2 separate regions of the Homo sapiens genome follow, and region 2 is linked to region 1. Evidence: promoter capture Hi-C in 16 types of primary human blood cells and fetal thymus (Javierre and others, 2016). All regions are on one chromosome and are shown on one strand. Each heading gives the region's core, a stretch centred on a gene start or on the middle of the fragment in contact. The rest is flanking DNA. Distances are from core to core; before and after follow the strand shown.

The links. The method cuts DNA at HindIII sites, captures the fragments that hold promoters and counts their contacts. A CHiCAGO score of 5 or more calls a contact.
Region 2: a fragment that was not itself captured here is called in contact with the fragment with the promoter of H4C7 in region 1 in 11 of 17 cell types (total CD4 T cells, naive CD8 T cells, activated CD4 T cells and 8 more); the score reaches 8.7 in total CD4 T cells.

What each region holds. Positions count from the first base shown.
Region 1 is chr6:26,242,812-26,248,699 of GRCh38, reverse strand. H4C7 (H4 clustered histone 7) reads left to right here and starts at 1,704. Exons shown (of 1, transcript NM_003547.3): 1 at 1,704-2,089. The coding sequence starts at 1,723. The coding sequence ends at 2,019. The HindIII fragment of the contact is 5,476 bases long and covers 1-4,561 here.
Region 2 is chr6:26,565,398-26,571,808 of GRCh38, reverse strand. It overlaps TRY-GTA1-1 (tRNA-Tyr (anticodon GTA) 1-1), which reads right to left and starts at 2,951; the gene lies at 2,861-2,951. LOC105374988 (a long non-coding RNA gene) reads right to left here and starts at 2,485. Exons shown (of 2, transcript NR_134611.1): 1 at 2,273-2,485. RefSeq lists an enhancer at 2,280-2,409. The HindIII fragment of the contact is 6,863 bases long and covers 1,270-6,411 here.

The DNA of each region.
Region 1 (5,888 bases), core at 455-2,954:
CATTAGGCCATAATTCATTTATGCAGTTACATGATTTTTTAGATATTGCTGACCCTGCTTCAAAAACCCATGATCTTTAGGACTGTTTGTTTGGTGCATCGTAACTGCACAATAAAAAATCCATTGTTATTTTGAACATTCTATTTTAGAGACATCATTTATTTCCACTTAAATGCTCTCGTTTAACTAGCTCAGCAAGTATTTTGTAATGTAAAAATTTAGTGGTGCTTATGTCTTTATTTTGGCTTGTGAGCAAATTCCCCTTTTCTCCTATTAACATTTATGACAGCTTTCCCTGAGTTTCCTGTTGTATCAACCCCAGAAGACAGTCACCCCCTGTACCTTCTGTCCTCCACATGAGAACAGGGCATGGAGCCTCTGGCAATTTACATTATCTTTTTTCTGGGCAATTCTTCATTGCTTAATTGTATAGTGCTTAATATAAGTGAAAGCACACTGAATGTATTGGTGTTGCAAAGGCAATGTTTTAAAATCCTTCGGTGTGCTTTACCTCTGCATTATTATTTTGTCTGTAAAAAAAGGCTGTGGCAATAAGAATTCGTTTACCAACTGGCCGGTGAGGTGGCTCACGCCTGTAATCCCAGCACTTTGGGAGGCCAAGGCGGGCGGATCACCTGAGGGCAGGAGTTGGAGACCAGCCTGGCCAACGTGAAATCTGGTCTCTACTAAAATACAAAAATGAGCCGGGAGTGGTGGCACATACCTGTAATTCCAGCTACTTGGGAGGCCGAGGTAGGAGAATAGCTTGAACCCAGAAGGTGGAGGTTGCAGTGGGCAGAGATTGCGCCATTGCACTCCAGCCTGGGCAACAAGAGCGAAACTCCGTATTTTAAAAAAAAATCATTTACTAACTATATGCCAGTGTTTTGCTTAAAGTAACTCAATTATTAACAAGTATTTACCCTTTTTACAGATAGGGCCATTGAAACTCAGATTAACATGTCTAATATCGGTGAGAGAGCAGTCACTCACAGATTCGAAACCAAAAACCAGGCTACTTCTCTTTAGCTGGGCGGCTTGGCAATATGATTAGGAATTCTTTTATGTCTTGGAATTTGGGCTTGTTTCAACTTCAGCATGGTAAATGCTCTAATATACAGGGAAGGAGTAAATCTTTTTTTTTTCTTTTTTGAGACGGGCTTCGCCCTTGCCCAGGCTAGAGTGCAGTGACGTGATCTCGGCTCACTGCAGGCTCCACCCCACGGGGTTCATGCCATTCTTCTGCCTCAGCCTCCTGCATAGCTGGGACTACAGGCGCCCGCCACCTCGCCCTGCTAATTTTTTGTATTTTTATTAGAGACAGGGTTTCACCGTGTTAGCCAGGATGGTCTCGATCTCCTGAGCTCGTGATCCGCCCGCCTCGGCCTCCAAAAGTGCTGGGATTACAGGCGTGAGCCACCGCGCCCGGCCAGGAGTAAATCTTTAAACACATACAGACATCAAAAATCGAGATACTTTCCTCTAGGTACATGTTTGACACTTTCGTTTAGAGATCCTTATTCTCTAAATGCCAGCAAATCTCCCTACTACAAGAGAATTTCTTATGTCTTGTTATTACTAGAAGTAGATGAGCGGGGACTGAATACGTTTTCCCGCCTTTCCTGGTCTTTCAGTTTTCAAAAAGGTCTACTCTACCGTTATATAAAAGGCTGCGGAAAGCGAGTAATCGTTTTGTTTAGAGATAGTTCTGACTTGTTTATCATGTCTGTTCGGGGCAAGGCCGGAAAAGGCCTTGGGAAAGGCGGTGCCAAGTGCCATCGCAAGGTACTGAGCGATAATATTCAGGGCATTACCAAGTGCACTATCCGGCGCTTGGCCCGGCATGGCGGTGTCAAGCGCATCTTGGGCCTCATTTATGAGGAGACCCGCCGGGTGTTCAAGGTGTTCCTGGAAAATGTGATCTGGTACGCCGTGACCAACACGGAGCACGCCAAGCGCAAGACGGTCACCGCCATGGCCGTGGTCTACGTGCTCAAACGCCAGGGAAGAACCCTGTAAGGCTTTGGCGGTTAAGTGAGGCCAGGCCTTTCCTTGCAATATCGTTAATGGCCCTTTTCAGGGCCGCGTACGTTTTCTTCCGAAGGGCTCACGTTTGACATTGTGGAAACTTAACTAACGCACTCAGCAATATTGTGTGTTTTATTGCTGTAGGTGCCCAAAAGCTGTTAGGTGTATAATGCTGTAAAGTATAAATTTACGCCAAGGCTGACATACAACATGGAATACAGGTGGTAAGTTAATCGTGTGTTCAGAGATTAGAAATCTGGTGGGCTGGCTGAGGACATCAACGGCTACATTGTCACTTAAAAGCTCTCAAAATGTGGTTATGGTAGTGTGTTTTTCTCCTTACTGTTAGGATTACCCTCCGTAATTAAAATTGTAGTTTTAGTGCCAAGATAACCCGACTTTTATATTCTGCTTAATAAGCAATTTCAATAACCAGAGAATACACAATAATTAGCACAAACTTGCCAGGTGCCGTTCTGACAAATGTGTCTGCAGTGGAGGGACTGGCCCCCTTGCTAGTTCAATGATCTAATTTAGCAGCACTAAAAGAAGTTTACCTGTTTCGTGCCTTTGCTTGTGATCCATCGTAAATATAGAAACACCTTGATAAGGTGTAACTGCAATAATTCGTGTCTCAATTTACTGTTTATGAAAGTACAGGGGTCAAAGAGCCAATTAAACATCTCAAGAGGGGGAAAAAACCTTCCAGAATGTGGAACATTTGGGACAATTGCTTTGTTCAAAAAGCCACCGAGAAAAACTGGAGGACTTTAAGTTTGAAGGAGATTAAAGTAACATAGCAACTAAATGTATTAATTGCATTCTGTCTCTAAAGTTTTAAAGGGCATTTTGGAGATAATCAAGGAAACTTGAACGTGAACTGGATAACAGGTCATTTTAGTAAGTTTTTAAAGAAAGGTTTGATATATTGAGATTACATGGAATTTCCCTTATTGTTAGGGGTTAGATGCTGAAGTGTGTAGGTGTAAATTCTCATGAGTCTGTCATTTACTTTCGGATGGTGGTAAAATCCACTCTATTGAATGTAGGTAGTGGATGACTGATAAACCCATCTTTTGTTATGTTTTATTCTGAATATTTTTATAATAAAAATTTGGGAAAAATTAACATAATAAACTGTTACAAACTCTGGTGCCATCACGGGAGAGGTCTCTGAACAGGTAAGTGTAAAAGACCTGTCTGCAGAGAGAGGATGCAAGTAGCAGGACACTGAGCCGCATGACACTTGTCATATGCAGGCACATTTATTCCTCTTGCTCTCACTCATCATGATCAGCTGTTAGCCAGAGGGGAGGGACATGGGAACAGGGCAGTTCAGGTACTGTTGGGAGAGGGTAGGTCTCCACTAGTGTGAAGACACAAGGGGCAATAAGTAGTTTGATGCCATGGAGACTGGGAATACATATATGACCAAAGATGCATGCCTGGCAGTTGCCTGATTGAGGAGGGCCTCCTCTTGCAAATTGAGAAACTGAGAATTAACCTTATGCTGTTGGAAGCATGTTAATGAGGTGTGACATGGAGAAACTTGCATTTAAGTTACATCAATTCTTTTGGATATTATGGCCATAAACTTTGTGCTGTGTAGTGAAAATATTGGGTTCTGCTAAGGTCAAGACAGGAAACAAGTAGCTTACTCACATGGGATAATTGGAGGAGGGTTTCTTAAAGAAATTATTTGCAAATTAAGGGCAGGATACAGAAAACTAAAAAAGTAGTGCCTCCATCCAGGTCTAGTAAGGATCACTTATAACCCTGAAGGGGCATGGGAAGCAATTGCTATAGCTGCAGAGAGAGGGATCCCTGGTCTGGAGAGATGCTGCTAACAGCCAATGAAAGGGAAACTGGGGAATAAATACCCCATCTCATTTTCCTCCTTTCCTCCAGTCTCCTGCATGGGGTTTCCACTGGCTGAATCCTTCCAGAAGGTGGAGGTCTGGGTAGCATATTGGTCAGAACCATACAGTTAGTCTCCCAAAGCCCAGGGCTTGGAGGAGAAAGTGGAAATAAGTCTAGAGGTCCTACTGGAAGACACTTTATGAGGAAATGACACCACTTCCATGTTTCATAAAATAAACGTCGTGAACAGTTCTGTGTTTCTATTATATGTTTTTTTTTTTTTTTTTTTTTTGGCCAATCCTTTGCCTTGCCACTGGAAACAGCTTGTAGAGACGGTGTCAAAGTTAAATTTTTCTGTAAACCACACAGGATCTACAGACTCTTATATAAGAAAAACTTTATATACTTAATTCCACAGAATTAAATATTTACTTTCTCAATCTATGAGTTTTTAACTTACAATGGTGTATGTTTGATTTGTATTATTTCACTTTCATAGGGGTAAATGAAACGACACAATAATCATTGTTTAACAACAACAAACACATGAAGCAGAACACAACAAAACTTTTTAAAAATAGATTTTAATGCAAGAGTCAATCTAGAATTTAAAAACCCTTTCTAGGATACACATTTTCTCATTGTTATTTATTTTTTCTGTCAAAGCCAAGCTTTTTACCTTTCAGGGTTTCTCCACTCTATTCTGTCAAACAACATTCCAGCAATTGCCATAATTTTCTATGGCCCTGTAAAGTATGACATAGTGTTTAAACAGTGAATTGTAGCCAAAATGACTGGCTTAAATATCACTGCTCTTGTGTGAAGTCACACATAGATTGGGAGCCACGCCAAGGATGTTCTGGGCCAGAGGACATGCAAGTGGAAAATCTCAAGGTGAGAAAAGCTTTATGTGTTTCAGGAAACAAAGGGCAACTAGTGTGGCCCCTTCCTCTGTTTACAAAAGGCATCACACTCCATTACCCTTATCACTTCTCTGACTCTGACTCTCCTCGCTTCTACTTATAAGGATCCTTGTGATTACAATGGCACCACTCAGGTAATCCAGAATCATCCAATCTCAAAAGCCTTAATTTAATAACATTGGAAAGTTACTTTTACCATTTAAGGAAACATATTCGCAGCTTTTGGGATTAAGATGCGGGCATCTGGGGGGGAGGCATTATTGCTACCAGAAGTATAGTAAGGCATAAAACCTTTTAATAGTGTTGTAAAACGACTCCGAATTCCTAAAATACACAAAAGTCCATTAGAAAATAGTTAAAACCCTTTTTGTTTGAAACTCTAAATTCTTAGTTGCCAGCTGACTGGTAATCGCACATTAACTGTGATGTTTAAAGGGATATTGAATAGATATTAGCATTCTTGGGAGGGCTGTAGAACCACGCCTGATGACACTCCCAGGGACAAACTCCAAAGCTGTGCTGCAGAACTAGTCAGGTGCTGGTGTGTCACACCTGTTATTTCTGAATCAGAACTTGACTCACCTGTAACCTATGGCTGCTGCTACTACCAAAAGTTGGCCCATCTGACATCTGTCACAGCAGAAACAGAGGCTTTAGGCAGTCTCTTCTCTCCTGGGTCCCATTTTTGAAGATAAGTCTTTTAAACCTGTGACTCATTGGTGAAGCCTAGGTTACAGATCTGCATTCCAGCTGCAAATGAGGCTGAGTATTGAAGTTCTGAAACCCAGGGAAGTGAGGCAATGTCCTAACCTGAGAATTTGACAAATATATACATTAAATAAATGGACCAGTATCTTTTGAACCTTTTCTCCTTCAAGTTCCAAAGTAAAACCAAAAGTACATCTATTTGAAACTAAAATTTTATGACACAATATTTTTACTTACTAGATGGGATACTTTGATAATTTCTAGTTGTTATATTGGATTCTATTTACGTTTTATATGCTGGTTGGGACCCACTAAATTATTTTCATTACCCGTGAATGGATCTCAATCTGCATTTTAAAAAGTCTGTAA
Region 2 (6,411 bases), core at 3,452-5,951, 320 kb before region 1:
ATGAATATCTTGCTGACACATAAGCAGCTAACAACACACTCCCGTATCATAATGGGGGTGGTCTTTCCTTCAAGCTCAAGATTCTCTCACCACCCATGAAAACCCATCTACTCGGTGGTTCCCTAGTCCTCAGATTGTTCTATCGTAGACAGAGCTGGGTACTTCGAATTTCTCTCACTATTTTCAGTTCTGAGTGTTGGCCTCTGCCAGGTGCATTGGCAAATCTATTATACACTTCGATCATTTATGTATTACATTTTTATCACAGCAGACTGAGGACGTATTACAAATTTTTTTCTTTTCCTTTTTTTTTTTTTTTTTTTTTTTTGAGACAGACTTACTCCGTCGCCCAGTCTGGAGTGCAGTGGCACGATCTCGGCTCACTGCAACCTCCGGCTCCCGGGTTCAAGCGATTCTTGTGCCTCAGCCTCTGGAGTAGCCGGGATTACAGCTGTGCGCCACCACACCGGCACATTTTTAGTAGAGACGGGCTTTCACCTTGTTGGCCAGGCTGGTCTCGAACTCCTAACATCTAGTGATCCACCCGACTCGGCCTCCCAAAGTGCTGGGATTACAGGCGTGGGCCACCGCGCCTGGCCCTGTATCACAAATTTTAAAAGATTTTTAAAATTACATTTTTATTCTTGGAATCTATTTCCTACATGTCCGACCTATTGAGGACCACCTTAAGTTGTTACAATTGTAACAAAGGCACTCCCATTATCTCAATAATATGGTGGATGGGCCAGGCGTGGTGGTTCCCGTCTGTAATCCGAGCACTTTGGGAGGCCGAGGCAGGCTGATCACGAGGTCAGGAGTTCGAGACCAGCCTGGCCAACATGGTGAAACCTCGTCTTTACTAAAAACACAAAAATTGGCCCGACGTGGTTGCGCATGCCTGTAATCCCAGCTACTCCGGAGGCTGAGGCAGGAGAATGGCTTGAAACCGGAAGGCGGAGGTTGCAGTGAGCCGAGATCGGGCCACTGCACTCCAGCCTGGGCAACAAGAGCGAAACTCCGTCTCGAAAAAAATAAATAAAATATATAAAAATAAAATGATGGAGAGCCAAAGGGTATGTAGGTATGTTTGAGGGTTTTTGTTTTGTTTTGTTTTGACGTTCACTCTTCCTCTTCTGAAGTCATCTTGCTATATCTTGCCGGAGGGTGGGGTGGGGGGGTCTGCTGCTGTTACTGGTGCTGGCACATAGGAGGAGAATTGTGACAGAGAATCTATCTGGACTGAAATCTATTGTGCCTTGGCAAGAAGCTTAGTCCAGGACTATTTAACAAATGTTGCATTCAAGCCCCAAACATTACCTTTGAAAATACCTATTTGTTTTGTTTTGTTTTGTTTTGTTTTCTGGCTGGGTGCGGTGGCTTGCGCCTGAAATTCCAGCACTTTGGGAGGCCGAGGTTGGTGGATCAACTGAAGTCAGGAGTTCCAGACCAGCCTGGCCAACATGGTGAAACCCCGTTTCTACCACAAACACAAAAATTAGCCCGGCGTGGTGGCGGACGCCTGTAATCCTAGCTACTCGGGAGACTGAGGCGGGAGAATCTCTCGAATCCGGAAGGTGGAGGTTGCAGTGAGCTGAGATGGAGCCACTGCACTCCAGGCTGGGCGACAGAGCGAGACTCCGTCTCAAAAAACCACAAACAAAAGGCCATTTTTCTTTTGCCCCCAACCAGCTTTCAAAAAGCAAGTTCATGGGGGAGCTATCAGTTTAGATCCATCTCCAGCCCTTAATAGGAGTGGCTTCCAATGCGTTTTGGGCAGGGCTCTCCAACCACCACCCTAATTCAATAAGCCTGGGCTTCTGTGTTTTTTGTTAGTTTTCCAGGTGGTTCTGATATCCAAGTTTGAGAATTATTTTCATAAAGAATAAAAGTTTGGAAACATGGGAAGGAACATACAAGAAATTACCAGGCACAAAATCCTCAGAAAACGCTTCCTTACTTTGATCTAGACAAAGATATTTGTCATTAAGAACTCTTCCATAGGTATCTGGGATCACATTTTTGAGACACAAAAGGGTACAATGGGATTAATATATTGTAATTAGATTGGCACAAAATTAGCAAATATGTACCACTGTTATGCCAGATCTCTACTTTGTGAGCTAATTCCCTATGTGGGTAGGAAATCCTGTCCATTTTTTCCCTTATGTACTATTTTCTCCTAAAATGATTCTCTTCTACCAGTGTTTTTCAAAACTTGCAGTACAGGAAAGTCAGCTGGTGAGCTTTTGAAACTACAATACCTGAATCTTACCTCCAAAGAAACCCAAGCATAGATGCTTTGTAAAATCTCCCCAGGTGATTCTAATATCGACCACATATTCTCTGCTAGGGTCGAAAGACACCACCATGACAATTAAAAGGAGAAGGGGGAATAGAACTCCTGAATTTCATCCCGGCTTCAGATGTATAGGGTTCAGACGCTAGTGGTTCAGCTTGTAACTGACTCGCAACGATTCAGAACTCTGAACACCAGGGCACGCGCGTGCCCCACCAATTACCAGTTGCTCCGAGTAATTCCCACCAGCCGCCCCTTTCCCCCGGCTGTGGATCCGGGGTTGAGGGGTGGAGACGCCTCTGTGGATCTCTAGCCCAGTGGACCAGTGTCTGATTCACTTCCTCAGTGCCCAGGGCTTCTAAGAGGGTTGGATTATACGAATTATAGGGATGAAGTCTTGATGGCGCGTGTTAAAAATTGTTACGGAGAATAATAAAAAATTAAAGAGATTCACTGCACATCCAGAATAGTTTTAAATAGATTCTTATCGAGGATATGTATAAGTGAAATACGCATTTCTGAGAATGAATTTTAAAACTTACGCAAAAAAAAAAAATTGTGAACTCCTTCGAGCCGGATTCGAACCAGCGACCTAAGGATGTCTAAGGACACAGCCAACTACAGTCCTCCGCTCTACCAACTGAGCTATCGAAGGATTCACACGACTTTCACTTCCCGCTGGGGATGCCATCTCTGCGGAAGGTTGGGCAATCGTGGATGCTTGTCGTCCTGTTTACCTGCGTCGTTGATGTTCTTTTGACATCCACTACCCCTTCGGAACTGACTGATATTCAGAGGCCCTTTTCTCTGAAACAGGGAGAAAACGGGAGCACCACCCTCACTAGTTTACAAAAAGAAACATAAAATGTTAAGGAGGCACAAGGAACTGATAAGAATTTAGCAATGACCATCTTTTGTTGTGATGAATGCATTATATAACCAATTTTAACCTCTACCTAAAAATAGAATTTGAAACACTTTAACAATGCAATTTTAATGGGATTTTATTGAGATAACTGACAGGAGGAAGAGAAGGAAGAGCAGGCTAAATAATGCAACTTCGAAAGCATAATAATTTTTTTTTTTTTTTTGAGACAGAGTCTCGCTCTGTCGCCTGGGCTGGAGTGCAGTGGCGCGATATCGGCTCACTGCAACCTCCGCTTCCCAGGTTCGAGCGATTCTCCCGTTCTCCCGCCTCAGCCTTCGAGCAGCTGGGATTACAAACGCAAGCCACCACGCCCGCCTAATTTTTATATTTTTAGTAGAGTTGTGATTTTTGCCATGTTGGCCAGGCTGGTCTCGAACTCTTGGCCTCAAGTGATCCGCCCGTTTTGGCCTTCTAAAGCCCTAGGATCATAGGCGTGAGCCCACAGCAGCTGGCCATCACATTAATTCTTAACTCAGCAAAAACCTATCCATGGGTGTGCTAAAATGATACATTTTTAAATGATTAACACAAGGTAATATCATTTCAAATATTAGTTTTGCAAAGTGTAAGATTCTTGTCTAGCTTTCTATGACTCTGAAGCTCAGAATAGCTATTATCCTCCCTTGTTAATGAAAAAATCCACTTGTGGTGGAATCTGGCATCCGAAATCTGTTTCATTATGGCCCGGCGCGGTGACTTACCTCTGTAATCCCAGGACTTCAGCAGGCCGAGACGGGGAGATCACCTGAGGTCAGGAGTTCGAGACCAACCTGGCCAAAATGGTGACACCCCTGTCTCTGTTAAAACTACAAGAATCAGCCGGGCGTGGTGGTGGTGGGCGCCTGTAATCCCAGCTACTCGGGAGGCCGAGGCAGGAGAATCACTGCAACCTAGGAGGCAGAGGTTGCAGTGAGCAGATATGTTGCCACCGCACTCCAGCCACTCCACAGAGCAAGACTCCGTCTCAAAAAAAAAAAAAAAAAAAAAAAAAAGAAAAGAGAAAAAAAAATCTGTTTCATTCTTTTTCATGTTCCATTAAAGATAATTACCTTGTCATATAATGAAACATGCACAGGGCAAATGATCCTTCTTGTGCAAGTAGGCCATTGAGCCCAATGTTCACTCCTTTATGGCACACAGATTTTTTTTTTCTTTTCTGAACAAAAATTGAAAGTACATTTAACTTGGCCATTAATCTCCTCAAGTCCATGAAACATTTATTTGAGTGGGGCGAGTCTCGATGAATTAAATGTAATGTTTTATCTCCTCTCCAACCTCAATTGCCTGAATAAGTTATCCTATTTCACAGATGTATTTACTTTTATACATTTGGTCAAAATACACTTTTCAAACGGTTAAATGCATGATTCATATACGAATATGAAATAAACACTTGTCAAAGGTTTAATTCACTAATGAGGGAATCATCAAGATGGTAAAACTGGTAAAACTGGATCGAAGAATTTATTGATAGTCACTGAAAGAAGCAATGCTGTAAATTAACATTGCTAAGTGAGGTAGAGAACTGGAAACTGCCTTACAGGACAATAAAACTGTACTGTTTCTACAGGACGGAAAATAACTAAATATCAGACGAAGTTCATTTGCATCACCACATCACGACGTTCCCTTACAAAGCTGAAAAACTACCCTAATCAATAAATAGTAAACTAGGCCGGGCTTGGTGGCTCAGGCCTGTAATCTCAGCAGTTTGGGAGCCTGAGGCAGCTAAGTCTCTTGAGACCAGGAGTTCGAGATCAGCCATGGCCAACATGGTGAAACCCTGTTTCTACAAAAAATACAAAAATTAGCGGGTCGTAGTGGTCGGGGGCCTGTAGTCCCAGCTACTGGGACTGGCTGAGGAGGGAGGATCCCATGAGCCAAAGAGTGTGAGGCCACAGTGAGCTATGATTGTGTCACGTCACTGCACTGCAGCCTGAGCGACAGAGCCAGACCCTGTCTCAAAAATAAATAGTAAGCCAAAACAATGGTACATACTCGTGGAGCAGTAATTTCTCTAATGGAGCAATTTTGCCTTCACAACGGTCATCTGACAATGTAAGAAGACATTTTTAATTGTTGTGACTGAGGAATATAGTAGGTAAATTGTTGTGACTGAGGAATGTAGTAGGTAAAGAACAGGAATGCTAGTAAACATCCTGTAATGCATAGAACAGCCCCCACAACAAAGAATTATAATATCTAGTCCAAAATGTCAATAGCGCTCTATTGAAACTCTGCTCTAGAGAATGAAAATAAGATAATCCTGGGCCTGCAGTTTTCTAATTGGCTCCCCTTGTCCAGATTGGTCCCCTCGGTTCTGTTCTCCACACAAAATGCCAGCAAGTTCTCACTGAGAGGTGTCTGAGGTCCATAAGATTGGCACCATTAAAAGAAGTTCCCCCCGGGCGCGGTGGCTCACGCCTGTAATCCCAGCACTTTGGGAGGCCGAGGCGGGCGGATCACGAGGTCAGGAGATCGAGACCATCCCGGCTAACATGGTGAAACCCCGTCTCTACTAAAAATACAGCCGGGCATGGTGGCGGGCGCCTGTAGTCCTAGCTACTCGGGAGGCTGAGACAGGAAAATGGCGCGAACCTGGGAGGCGGGGCTTGCAGTGAGCCGAGATCGCGCCGCTGCACTCCAGCCTGGGCGACGGAGCGAGACTCCGTCTCAAAAAAAATAAATAAAAATAAGTAAATAAATAAATAAAATTTTAAAATGCAGCCCATGTGGCAAACTAACATGCAGTTAATTCGCAGATTTGATTTCCATTCATTCATTCGGTAAAGGTTTACTGCGTACCTGCTGCGAGCTGATGGAAGAGGCCCTGGGTTCTTTGCGAGCGCGTGGTCCCTTGAGTCCCTTGAGGGTGAGGAAATCGCACCACCGACCTCCACGTGTAGGGGAGGACGTGGTGCAGCAGCGCCAGATAACGCCGGAAGAACCCCAAGTGGAGGCTGCTTGGGTCCCTCGGGAGTGAGTGAAGAACCAATTTCTGTGGCATGTGTTTCAACAGTAACTGTACTGTAATGCTTCCTAAAAAGTAAATATGTATTGAACTAATTGTATACATAGACCCTTTTGAACACAATTTAAAAGTAAATAATGAATTTTGGTAGTAGAAGTTACAGCAACATGGACAGGCTATTTACTCGTATGTATGATGTAATGGAAAGAACACAGA